Regions from separate parts of the Homo sapiens genome. Here all the other regions are linked to region 1. The links are contacts of gene promoters, found by promoter capture Hi-C in blood cells and fetal thymus (Javierre and others, 2016). All regions are on one chromosome and are shown on one strand. Each heading gives the region's core, a stretch centred on a gene start or on the middle of the fragment in contact. The rest is flanking DNA. Distances are from core to core; before and after follow the strand shown.

Evidence for each region. Contacts are between HindIII fragments. The CHiCAGO score rates a contact against its expected background, and 5 or more counts as called.
Region 2: a fragment that was not itself captured here is called in contact with the fragment with the promoter of HEATR3 in region 1 in 6 of 17 cell types (neutrophils, naive B cells, activated CD4 T cells and 3 more); the score reaches 10.9 in neutrophils.
Region 3: a fragment that was not itself captured here is called in contact with the fragment with the promoter of HEATR3 in region 1 in 3 of 17 cell types (neutrophils, monocytes and naive CD8 T cells); the score reaches 6.1 in neutrophils.
Region 4: a contact is called between a fragment that was not itself captured here and the fragment with the promoter of HEATR3 in region 1, in 1 of 17 cell types (neutrophils). The highest score is 8.3, in neutrophils.

What each region holds. Positions count from the first base shown.
Region 1 is chr16:50,064,577-50,067,803 of GRCh38, reverse strand. It overlaps HEATR3 (HEAT repeat containing 3), which reads right to left and starts at 1,834. Exons shown (of 15, transcript NM_182922.4): 1 at 1,535-1,834; 2 at 1,265-1,437. The coding sequence starts at 1,672. HEATR3-AS1 (HEATR3 antisense RNA 1) reads left to right here and starts at 1,480. Exons shown (of 3, transcript NR_186390.1): 1 at 1,480-1,751; 2 at 2,997-3,113. RefSeq lists silencers at 1,112-1,371, 1,452-1,501, 1,832-1,881 and an enhancer at 1,732-2,026. The HindIII fragment of the contact is 22,013 bases long and covers 1-3,227 here.
Region 2 is chr16:50,668,730-50,671,997 of GRCh38, reverse strand. LOC101927272 (a long non-coding RNA gene) reads right to left here and starts at 3,143. Exons shown (of 3, transcript NR_110908.1): 1 at 2,838-3,143; 2 at 1,005-1,315; 3 at 359-850. SNX20 (sorting nexin 20) reads left to right here. Exons shown (of 4, transcript NM_182854.4): 4 at 1-369. The HindIII fragment of the contact is 1,314 bases long and covers 1,362-2,675 here.
Region 3 is chr16:50,686,946-50,690,290 of GRCh38, reverse strand. No RefSeq gene overlaps it. Among named protein-coding and RNA genes, the nearest start is that of NOD2, 5.0 kb to the left of the region's middle. The HindIII fragment of the contact is 3,251 bases long and covers 428-3,345 here.
Region 4 is chr16:50,650,118-50,653,306 of GRCh38, reverse strand. No RefSeq gene overlaps it. Among named protein-coding and RNA genes, the nearest start is that of SNX20, 30 kb to the left of the region's middle. The HindIII fragment of the contact is 4,167 bases long and covers 1-3,189 here.

The sequences.
Region 1 (3,227 bases), core at 585-3,084:
ACACAGTTGGCACTTTATACATATTTGCTATATCAGTGAATGAAATATAAATAACAAACAGAGACAGAGCTGTAAGAACTACAAATACTAACCTCTACTCTTGCCCCCTCTGCAGTCCATTCTCTGCACAACCAGCAGAGTGGTCTTCACAAAATGTGTTGCAGCATGTCACTTCCCTGCTTAGAGTTAAGTCCTCAGCCCTACACCATCGTACAGCTCATCCCTCTCTCCAGCCTCACTTCCTGTAATTACCCACCCCTGCTCTTCTCAGCCACCTACCTACCCTCTCTGCTGTTTAACCACGTCAAGCTGCCTGCTGCTTCGCTTCTTTGCTGTTGCTGCTCCCTTTGTGGGGAATATTCTTCCCCCTATTTTCCCATGCCTCCTGGCTCTCTCACCCTGCACATCTCCTTTCACAAGTCATCTAAAGAGCACCTTTTTTTTTTTTTGAGACAGGGTCTTGTTCTATCACCCAGGCTGGAGTGCAGTGGTGTGATCATAGCTCACTGCAGCCTCGAACTCCTGGGCTCAAGCGATTCTCCTACCTCAGCCTCCTGAGTAGCTGGGATTACAGGCACCCACCACCATGCCCGACTAATTGTTTATAATTTTTCTACAGACGGGGTCTTGCTATGTTGCCCAGGTTGGCCTTGGACTCCTGGCCTCCAGTGATCCTCCTTCCTTGGCCTCCCAAAGCAATGGGATTACAGGTGTGTGCCACCGCGCCCGGCCCAAGAGCACCCAATTCAAACTTCCCACCCCCAACTCATCATCATCTCGTTTTCCCACAGCAATTCTCACTATTTAATATTATGTTTTACCTTTTTACTAGCTTCCTGTCTGTCTCCCCATCAACATGACTTGTGCCAAGACAGGGATCTTGGCTGTCAACAGATCTCGCTCAAAAGTCTTGGCTGCTCAAAGTCCCCTGCATCTAGAACGATTCCTGACACATGAACTGAAGAGTTCATCCAAGCAAGGGACCCTAAGGAGGGCTTTTGGAGAGTGTAAAACGTGCGCAAGGCGTGAGGGCAGGACGCCTGAGCAGGTGGACGCTGCAGGTGAAGCAGCCAGGTGGACAGATGAGATGCGGGGATACTGGGCTTCTCCGGAGCCTGGAGACTGGCTTCAAATCTCTGCAAACGGGAGACCGGGCCAGTGCCTGATGGCACACAGAAGGCGCTGGGTGACCGCTGCGACCGCCCGCAGCCCAGACGCGGGGGAGGCCAGCGGTGGGCACCGCCCCGCACCCTTCCTGGCTCACCTCAGCGCGCCGGCTGCAGTCTCCCTGACGGCCAGGCTGGGGTCTAGCAGCAGCGGCCCGAGGCGGCGCACGGCGTCTCGTCGCGCCAGGCCCGGGAGTGCCGGCCGCTGCTGCACCAGCCGGGCCAGCCCTGCGCAGGCGCACTCGCGGACCTCGGCGCTCGGGTGCTGGAGCTGCGGATGAGAGCGAAAAGGGTCAGAAGGCGCGCAATGCGCACGCGCGCGGGGCAACCTCGTCTCGCCTCCCGGCCCGACGGAGCCCTCGCCTCACCTTTTCCAGCAGCTCCGCCGCCGGCCCGTCGTCCTCCTCGCCTCCGGTCCCATTCGCCGCCGCAGCCGCCTCGGCCTGACAGTCGCCCGTAGGGGAGAACTGAGGTCGCTTGAAGCGCTTCGTCCGGCTCTTGCCCATGGTGACGTGCGCTGGGCGGACAGACCACCGAGAGAGGAGGGCAACAGCAGGCGGTGGAGGCTGCCGCGCCGTTAACAAGGTCCGTTGCTGCTGCTCAGCTGGGCCGGCTGACGGCTGCAGCACACATGGGCAAGCCGTGCGCAGGCGCACGGCGCGTCGTCTGCCGGGTCGGGGTTGGGGCGGGGCGGGGTGGGGGGAACTGGCGCACGGAGCGCGCAGGCGTGGAAGAGGGCATAGGCGGGGCCAGCTTCGGCAAAGGGGCGGAGCCTTGTGGGTTTACCGGGTAAGTAGGAGGTTGGACTAGAATAGTAACGCCGACCCGGGCGAGAGGATCACTTGAGGCCAGAAGTTCGAGACCATCTTGGGCAACATAGGAAAACACTCCACTCCCTGTCCTCCCCACCAAAAAAATTAAAAATTATCTGGGCATAGTGGCGTGTGTGTGTAGTCCCAGCTACTTGGGACGTTGAAGCCGGAGGATCACTTGACCCCAGGAGTTTGAGGCTGAGGTGAGCCGTGATCCTGCTACTGCACTCCATCCTGGGCGACAGAGCGAGACCCTGTCTCAATCAATCAATCAAGCAACCAATAAGTTAGTAACACCGGCTACAAATAATCAAATGTGATTAAGAATACCTAACTTGCAAGGTTATTGTAAGTTCTGTAAAGTTCATAAAGTTCTGTAAAGTGCCTAACACCAAGCCTGATATATAGCAGGTACTCAAAAAGCATTAACCACGATTTTATTTTGTGTCCCCAGCACCTCCCATAGCTCCTGTCGTAGACAGAGACTAGTTAATGTTTTGGAACGAATGTGTGTCTATATTTGATAAAACAGAATCGCTTAAGAACCTAATCTCCCTGCCTTAGTTTCCTCATCAGTGAAGTGGGGACATCGATAGTATATACCTCATGGAGTTGTTACGAAGACTAAATGTGTTCATATGTTTAAGGTGCTAAGAACAGAGACTGGCAGATACTAAGCACTATGTAAATGTTTGGAAACGTATTTAACAAAGAGATTCTTTTGCAGATATTTGTTGAGTACTAGGTACAGTGCTGGGCATTGGAATAAAGCAGTAATCAAGACAGTTTGGTTCCTGTCCTCTCTCCCTGTCCTTATGGAATTTACAGTCCAGGGAGAGATCTGTTGAATATATAATTATATGAATAACTTTGGTTATAATTGTGGTAAATACTAAGCAGAGGGAAAAGTACAGGAGAATCTTAGGTGGTCTTTATAATTAGACATGTAACGAGTGAGTACTCAATATATGCATAGCTTTGGGTCAATTTTCTTTTTTTCTTTTTGTTTTTGAAACAGAGTCTCACTCTGCTGTCCAGGCTGGAGTGCAATGGTGCGATCTCGGCTTATTGTAACCTCTGCCTTGGAGTTCAAGCAGTCCTCCTGCCTTAGCCTCCTAAGTAGCTGAGATTACAGGTATGTGCCACCATGCCCAGCTATTTTTTTTTTATTATTATTTTTAGGAGAGACGGGGTTTTACCACGTTGGTCAGGCTGGTCTCGAACTCTTGATCTCAAATGATCTGCCTGC
Region 2 (3,268 bases), core at 769-3,268, 600 kb before region 1:
ATGAGCTTATTAGGGTGAATTAATGAGTCTGTAATTTGGGAACCTTAATGTGAGACACCACTTAAGGAGAGGAACTTGGCCCAGCAAGTGATCACTCTAGAAGTGGACAGCTATGCACTAGACTGCACCAGAATCTGTTCAACAGCGACACCTTGTGGTAAAAACTGTAGACGCCCCATCAGGCTGGATGGGAAACTAGAAACAGACTGTCTCATCTTTGGACAGATATCCCTCAAATCTCCCAATCTACTCCAGGGAAAAGACACTTCAAGTGAGAGATATTGGACTTCTTGAAAATCTAGGCCTATGGAAAATTAAAGTGTTAAATGGAAAAATTAAAGAGCTATGAGTCTATTTGTAATGATGAAACAGATGATATTGATTTTGTCAGTTATTTCTTCAAATCTAAAATGCTATCAACAATATGCAACAAATGTTTACTAACAAAGAAAAAATACCCAACATGGACAGTTTAATGGGATATTCCAGCACAAAAGCTGGAAAAGCAAAGAGTTAGACCCCCGATATGAGGGTTAACACCAAATAAGCCTGTTGTACAGGAGGGGACATTAAGGAAATTTGCACAAACTAAACTTGGCACTGGGTGGAGTACAGGGAACTTCCTCTGAGAATTTGAACTGCAAGCGGGCACTCGCCCATGTTTTAGGGCTGAATACACACAGCATGGTCCAAAATCCCTCAAGCAGAGAAATCATGTTAAAGTGGTCTCAGGTGGAGGTGTTCCAGGTGCCTCAAGACCTGGAGATCTTTAGGTCTTCCCTGGGGCTGAAGGATGTCAGCATCAAGCCAGGCCTATAAGAAGTGTAGGATCCTGTTGAGTTCAGAGGTGCTGAAATGTGAAAAAAAAAAGTCATCTCAAAATCACAGATAGATGATATGTGTGGGGTGTTGGGGGGGTGGGGCGGGGGGTGCACACAGAGAGAAAATACTTATATGGGAGTAAAGGAGCCTATAGAATCACATGGGGGGTTCCCCATAAGTACCTCTGAAGAGGGGTTGGCTTCCCACACAGTGCACAGGAAATGGATTTATTCAGGCTTCCCAAAAAGGGACTGGCCACATGGGGCAGCTTCAGGACCATCACTTTGCCTTTTCCCGATGACACTCAATGCTGCCCCTCCTCGTGCTTCTGGCAGCCTTGGCCTGAGCATCCACGGGAGTTTCTTCTGGCCATGGACACTGCATCTTCATCCACTACAAGTTGTCTGATGGACTGGGATGGCCTGCCACAGCCAGCTCCTCCTGGCATCTCCCATATGCTGCAGCAGTTAGAGCCCACTCGTTCCTTGGGTTCCTGGAACAAGTCCTTGAATTCCTTAGGCCCCCACCTCCAGCAAGCTTTCCGCAGGGCCCACTGCAGCCCCACCGGGGTACCCCACCTCCCTGTTTGCCTGGGCCCTCTCCCACGCCACCTGTATTAGTCCTTGTTTCTAGGGGACTTTAGAGTGGTGGCAGCTGGGACTGAACATTCTTCTCCTGACCCCTCAAAAGCTGGGTCCACAGGAGAGGTGAGGGGGTACCTGACCTCCATACCCAGGATGGAGCCTTGTTAGGAACACAGAATTTCAGGCCCCACCCTAGACCTGCTTAATCGGAGTCTGCACTTTAACAAGAGCATCCCCCACTGCCGCAGGTGACTCTTACCTGCATACCTCAAAGGTTGAGAAGCCCAGTGTTGAACTGACTTGAAGGCACCTCAATGAAAATCATCCATGGAACTGGGCCATCTGTGGTCCTGGGTTCATCCCCATCCTTCTCTTCTCTCCACCCGGGCCCTCTACCATACAGGTGCCTCATCCCAGGGGACTGCAGATGGGACTACCATGCCAGCCTCACAACCATACCTGCAAAACCACTCTGGGCATTTGGACTGGAGCTTAAAGGGGTTCATTCCAATGAAGCCCTCCCTGCTGCAGCAGCCACTCCCCCCCACTGGCTGTGATGGAGTCCTGGGGTCTCCACTTTGAGCTGGGATTAGGCATCCTCATGAGACCCTGTCCCCTGGGATGCCGGCAGTTCCCTGCCAAGCCCACAATTGAAAACAAGCTCTGCAAGCAGCTCCCTGTGCGGTAAAAGTCAGGGCTCCCCAGGCCTACTGTGTGACCAGGCACTGCCGGGCCATTGATAGCACCGTCACTCCAGCTCTGCTTGGGACATGTTCCTATCCCATTTTTCAGTTGAGGAAAATGTGATCATTTGTAACATTGTAACCTGAGGGGGTTAAGTGACTTGCCCAGGGTTACACAGCTAATAACTGGACCAGGAAATTAAGACCAGGCTTTAATTTGACCCAAGCCCTACTTTCCTTGCTGAACTCCACATTAAAGGATGTGGAGGAGAGGGGAAGGGATATGTTCCTGGTCCCCTCACCGAAATGGGTCCTTGATATGGTTTGGATGCATGGTGGTCACCTCCAAATCTCATGCTGAATGTGACTCCCAGTGTTGAAGGTGTGGCCTGGTGGGAGATGTTTGGCTCATGGGGGCAGGTCCCTCATGGATGGCTTGGTGCCCTCCCCGTGGTAATGAATGAGTTCTCACTCTGTTAGTTTACATGAGAGCTGGTTGTTTAGAAGAGCCTGACATGGCTCTTGCTCCCTCTCTTGCCATGTAAGTCACGAACTCCCCCTTCCCCTTCCACCATAAGTGGAAGCTTCCTGAAGCTTCACAAGAAGCAATGCTGGTGCCATGCTTCTGTACAACCTGCACAACTGTGAGCCAAATAACCCTCTTTTCTTTATAAGCTACCCAACCTCAGGTATTCCTTTATAGCAATGCAAAATGGACTGACACGCCTTTAAAGATCATTTCACTCACCTCTGTTTACAGATGGGGAAATCAAGGCCTGGAGAGATGACTTATCCAGGGTCACGTGGCGAGACAGGGACAGCACCAGAACCAGACCCGAGATGTCCACGTCAAAGTGACATGCTCTGAGAGGCAGCACACACAGAATAACCCTGCATCCAAATTCCAGGAAGCTCTTAGGGGTCATCCAGCTGGGCCTAGGGGTGCAGGGTCAGTGCTGAGGCCTGGGCAGGGCCGCTAGCCTCCCTGAGCTTTCTGGCTTCAGGCTGGGAGGCACAGTTCAGGGTGGACTGTGACCCCTTGGCCTAGAATGCCCTTAGCTCTGCTCTCTAGTGGCTGTCCCCATAGCTGGAACTCTGTTTTGGAGTGGCAAAACCAGTTCCACCTGCTGGTAGGGGTAGGTTGGCTCCCAACACATCCCCAGCAGGCCTCTCTTGGGC
Region 3 (3,345 bases), core at 804-3,303, 620 kb before region 1:
TTCCTTTATGCTTGTCATATTTCAATAGATATTTATTTTTTAAAGATGCTATAAGTATGTTTATCAGATAGAAAGCTGCCTAGAATATATAAGGCTAAATTTATAAAGTAGACTCTTTTTTGAACGAGGATGCCAAGATGATTCAGGGGGAAAAAAGTGGTCTTTTTAACAAATGGTGCTGGGAAAACTAGATGTCCACATGCAAAAGAACTGAATTTGGATTCCTCCTTCAGGCCTTATACAAAAATTAACCCAAAATGGATCAAAGTCCCAAATGCAAGATTTAAAATATAAAAATCTTAGAAGAAAACATAGGTGAAAATCTTTGTGACCTTGGATGAAGCAATGATTTCTCAGATTTGACACCTAAAGCACAAACAACCAAAGAAAAAAATAGATAAGTTGGACTTTATCAAAATTCCAAGCTTTTGTGCTTTGAAAGACATGATCAAGAAAGTAAAAAGACAACCAACGGAATGGGAGAAAATAGTCACGACTCATATCCAGAATATATAAAGGACTCCTGAAACTCAATAACAAACAACTTTTTAAATGAGCAAAGGATTTGAAAATGTTCAGAGAACGTATGTAAGTAGCCAACAAGCACATGAAAAGACGCTCAACATCATTAATTGTTAGGGAAATGTGAATCAAAGCCACCATAAGATACCACTTTACACTCACAAAGGTGCCCTTAGTCCAAAGGACAGAAAACAAGTGCTGGAAATAATGTGGAGAAACTGGAAGCCTCATACATTGGTGGTTAGAGCGTAAAGTGGTGAAGCCACTGTGGAAAATAGTTTGTGGGTTCTTCATAAAGTTAAACATGGTGTTACCATATGATCCAGCAATTCTACTCCTAGGTATACTCAACAGAATTGAAGCATATATGCACACAAATGCTTGTACACAAATGTTCATAGCAACATTATTCATAAGAGGAAAAAGTGGAAGCAAACTAAATGTCCCTCAGCTGATGAATGGATAAAGAAAATGTGATCTATCTGTGCAATGGAATATTATTCAGCTGTGAAAAAAACAAAGTACTGATAAATGCTACAACATAAATGAACCTTGAAAACATTATGCTAAGTGAAAGAAGCCAGTCACAAAATGACATCTATTGTGTAAGTCCGTTTACATGCAATGTCCGGAATAGGCAAACCCATGAAGACAGAAAGTAGATTTGTTGGTTGCCAGGAACTGAGAGGAGGGAGGAATGAGGAGTGACTGCTAGTGGGCATGAGGTTTGGTTTTTGTTTTGTTTTGTTTTGTTTTGTTTTTGCATGATGAAAATATTCCGGAATTAGATCATGGTGATGGTTACACAACCTTGTGAATGGACTAAAAACCAGTGAATTACACACCTTAAAAGGGTGAGTTTTATGGTATGTGAATTATATCTCAATGAAAAACAGTTGGGCTGCCAAATGCTTTGTGTAGAAAGAATATAAGGCTAAATTTAAAGAGTAGGTTGTTTTTTAACAAGGATGCCAAGATAATTCAAAGGGGAAAAATGATCTCTTTAACACATGGTGCTGGGAAAACTAGATATCCACGTGCAAAAGAAATGAATTTGGACTACTACCTCATACTTTATACAAAAATTCTGTAATAGATATGTGTGAATATATGCATTGAAACATCTAAAAGACAAGTTAGGATCGGATTTTAACTGGACTTTTAAAATTCTTCTGTGTTAACCTGTATTTCCTAATAAGCATAATTTACTTGTTTAATAATAATTTTTTAAAACTTTCCAATGAGTTAAGGGATATTGATTAAAAACTCCCTGTGTGCAGGGCCCTCTGCCGAGACAGGCAATTGGGATGCCCTGGAGACATTTCTGTCCTTGAGTGCTCTGACATGGGCACCGTGCAGGAAGTGCTCAGAAGAGGCGGAGGGAAAATGCTTCCAGAATCCCCCGGGCCTCAGAGGAGAGAAATCCTTGGATTGTGTCATTCAAAATTCTTCCAGGCCGGGAAGCTGCCTGTGCCTGAGCACTTCCCCCAGGAGCGAGGACTGCCCCCATCAGCAGGCCTGGATAGTAGGAGCTCAGCCCAGGACCGACGGCGGCTGCTGCTGCTGACAGTGGTGGTAACCCGGCCTCATAGTGGGCTGCAGTCTCCACGCTGGTGGTCCTCTGCTCCAAGCAGCCCGCCCACTCACCAAAGTCCAAACACTTCCACAAGCTGGCCCAAATGGATGAAGACAGGAATGGCTTTCCCTCCCCACATCTCTGCACCCCTAGCTTCACCAACTTCCCGCAGCTCTCAGTACTCCCACCTGTGAGCTTCTGCTCACTCTGTGCCCCAGGCAGAGGCAACAGGTGGCAACTGCAAGGACTCTGGCCCCAGCGAACTTGGATTTGAATTCCAGCCCTGCTCCTTAGCGGCTGTATGCTCTTGGCCAGTCATTTCATTTCTCTTGACCTCAGTCTCCCTCACAGTTAAGTGAGGATGACAGTCCACTTAGATCTTGTCATGAGGGATGCATACACTAGGACTCGGTGCCTGGTAAACAGTGAGCACACCACAGTGTGAATATGTTATTGAACACTTGCCATATGCCACGCCGTGTACTCTCACAACACCTCTATGGAATAGGTTCCATTCCTCATCCCCATCTTTGACAGGAAGAAACGGAGGTTTCAAGAGGATCATGAATTTCCTAAGATGACCCAGCTATGGAATGGTGGGACTATGAGTCAAGTCCACGTCCTTCTCTACCTGCTTTTATCTGGACCTTCCATGCCCACCTCCTGCAAGGAAGCTCTCCAGACCCCACAGTCCCTGTGGGCTCTCCCAGTCCTCTCAGCTGCAAAGATCAGCCTGCCTGTTCTCCTGTTGGCCATCAGCCGAGACGGTCCAACACTGTTGGCCCAAGTTCCATGTGTCCGTCCTGTGTATCACCAGTCTCTGAGGGTTCAAGGTATCCCTTCCTTGTCCCTTCCTTGTTGCTGGACCTCAGCCTCTGGCCCAGTGCTTGGCCAAGTCTGTTTTCAGAGTGACTTTTTTTTTTTTTCCGAGGTGGAGTCTCACTCTGTTGCCTAGGCTGGAGTGCAGTGGCGCCATCTCAGCTCACTGCAACCTCCGCCCCCTGGGCTCAAGCGATTGTCCTGTCTCAGCCTCCCAGGTAGCTGGGACTACAGGCATATGCCATCATGCCCAGCTAATTTTTGTATTTTTAGTAGAGACAAGGTTTCAGCATGTTAGCCAGGTTGGTCTCAAACCCTTGACCTCAGGTGATCTGCCTGCCTTAGCCTCCCAGGCTAGGATTACAGGCGTAAGCCACTGCGCCCTATCCATGGGTGACTTACTGACAGAGGGACAATGCTTGAAAGAA
Region 4 (3,189 bases), core at 521-3,020, 590 kb before region 1:
CGAGTTGCTGATTAAAACCAGGAGGGGTTTTTAATCAGCTGAGGCCATATGCTATTTAACCAAAGATGAAAGCACGAGTGATAAGCATCGTCTCAGAAAGGATGTCATTAAAGGAAGAGCAGAACAGCAAGAGGCAGCTTTTATCATTAGAGAAGCCCCTTGCAAAGCTCTCGTGAGGGGCTTCGGGGAACATCTGGGCTCGGTCTATTATGCAGTACTTACAACGTCATTGTGTTTGACAACGGCTCCTGAGCCCACGCCACACTAAACTTCTAAATATACAATTAATGTCTATTAATTATAGTTTTCAAATCAGCAAAATGAGCCTTCATTAACTTAATCGCCTCTTCTATTTTATCAGGAAATTGTACTCTTGGTGTTCATAATCCCCGCATCTGAAACCCCCCTTTGACAGGCGGCATGTGATGCTTGGCTGACTGTTTAAGGGAAGGCCTGCCTGTCCTCCCCGCATCTAGGCACCCCGCCTAATCCACCCTCGGCCATGAGACGTGAAGCCACTGAGGGCCTCCGAAGTATTCCAAAGGGTTTGTGAGCAGGCATGTGGTCCGGGAGATGGTGTTGGAAGTGAGGCGGCAGCTGCCATCATGGTACCTGGTCAAGCTGGAGCCCAGCTCAGATGGAACTGAATCTGAACCAGTATGTGTTGGGGGGATGATGTGGACAGGAAACTGGCCACTGCCTCTTGCATCTCTTTGGACCCTAGGCAGCCCTCCTTCTCACTGTCAGCAGCCTTGGGGATTATCTCGCTGCTCACAACAGCCGGTGTCTTATGATGTAATTAACCCCATTGCAGACACGGGCAAACTGAGACTCACAGAGGGGAAACGGTTTCCTCAGGACTGCAGAGCAAATTGTTGGCCATGCTGAGCCTTCAACTCAGCTCATCTAATGCCCAAGATAGGGCCTCACCCTGAGTTTGCATATATAATGGAGGTCACTGTTTTTCAGTGGACTTTCATCTTCTTCTCTCCCCTTGGCATGAAGAGTGCTCCCCTACCCCATGGCTTTTGGGCTTGGCCATGTGACTTGCTTTGGCCAATGGGATGGGAGTGAATGCCATGAGCTCAACCATGTAACTTGCTTTCACCAGTGGGAGAGGAATGAATGCAACGAGCTTGGTGGTGCGGCCTGCTTTGGCCAGTGGGATGGGAGTGGATATGATGAACTTAGCCACGTGACTTAGTTTGGCCAATAGGATGGGAGTAGATAGGATGAGCTTGGCCATGTGACTTGCTTTGGCCAATGGGATGGAAGTTAATATGATGAGCCTGGGCCATGTGACTTGCTTTGACCAATGGGATGGCAGCAGATACCATGGGCTTGGCCACATGACTTCCTTTGGCCAATGGAACAGGAGTGGGTATGATGTCCACCATAGCCCCTTCTTCTTGGGTGATCAGGAGATGTGCAGAGAAGAGGGGTGGAGAGAGAGAAAGAGAGAGAGCAGGTGAGAGAGTCTTTGGACCTAATTGGGTCAAATGCCTTAGACAACTTACACAACTTCCCAGCTTTACCGTCCTCTGGAATAAAATGGACGTGATAGAAAGGCTGCCTCCTGGCCGGGCGCGGTGGCTCACGCCTGTAATCCCAGCACTTTGGGAGGCCGAGGCGGGTGGATCATGAGGTCAGGAGATCGAGACCATCCTGGCTAACAAGGTGAAACCCCGTCTCTACTAAAAATACAAAAAATTAGCCGGGCGCGGTGGCGGGCGCCTGTAGTCCCAGCTACTCGGGAGGCTGAGGCAGGAGAATGGCGTGAACCCGGGAAGCGGAGCTTGCAGTGAGCCGAGATTGCCCCACTGCAGTCCGCAATCCGGCCTGGGCGACAGAGCGAGACTCCGTCTCAAAAAAAAAAAAAAAAAAAAAAAAGAAAGGCTGCCTCCTAAGGTTGCTGTGAGGATGAAATGGGCAGTGCTTTGCCTGGAAGGCTGGAGAGTGGCTTTGCCTGGTGGGATTCTGGCACCATGGCACCTCGCACCTCAGAGGGCCCAGAGCAAGGAAGTGGCTGTACCCCAACCCCAGCTCCATGGGTCGGCAAGCCCTGGACTGTTCAAACCCTATTACAGCCTTCTATAAATGCAGATCGTCTTTATAGTTCTCTCCCCTTGGCTCCAACTTTGTTTCCATTACCTTATTTTAAGCCCATCACCTCATCTCATTTATGCCTTATAGAAATTTATGGCTAAGTGGGGACAGCAGACAGGCAGCTGTGATCTGAGGCCTCTGCAGGAGGCCCAGGAGGGGCATCTACCCAAGGCTTGGGGGTCAGGGAGGGCTTCCTGGAGGAGCGGGGTCTTGAAGAAGGAAGGGGGCAGTTGTACTAGAGACCCACGGCCACCTGTCATTTCAGCTGCAGCTATTGAGGACAGTCTAGCAAGCACAGACTCACCTCATCCCAGCAGAACTGTACCTGGCCTTCCTGCCCATTCCCTGGGGCCTTCTCCAGTCCTGCAGGAAGTGAAGGGGCATCAACACCCCCAGAGACACCCCCAAGACTCAGGCTGGGGCCAGTGGACACATGCTCCAGCCTTTCGCCCTGCAGCCAGACACCCCAGGGTCACTCTGTCCTCATCCTAGAGGGCCACTTTCTCTAATGGTGACCTCAGCAAGGCACCCTCATGTCACTTTGTCACCTGCCCTCTTGTCCTCCTGCCCCATCACTCCTCTCTTGAGCATCACCCTACCAAAAACCTACCCCCAAGTCTCTGTCTTAGGCCAGGCCTTGGGGAACCCAGGCTCAGGCCAGGAGCAGCTAGGTGAGAGGTGAGGACAAGCACTGCAGGGAGAAGGAGCAGCATATTCTGGGCTGGAAGAGAAAGGAAAGTCCTCCATTGTTTAAGGGTTGTCAGGGAGCACAGGGCAGTGGGTCAGAGGGGAAAGGCAGAAAGTCATGGAGGAGACAGGAGACAGGGAGCTAGTGGCTCCTGAGGGCCTGGTCTGCTGGGCTGGGAGCTGAGCCCTTGTCCTGAGGGCAATGAGATGGGTTTGCAGTAGGAAGTGCCATGGTCAGATTGGCGTTTTTGTTTTTGTTTTTTGTTTTGTTTTGAGACGGAGTTTTGCTCTTGTTGCCCAGGCTGGAATGCAATGGCGTGATCTCAGCTCACTGCAACCTCCGCCTCCCAGGTTCAAGAGACTCTTCTGCCTCAGCCCCCCGAGTAGCTGGGATTA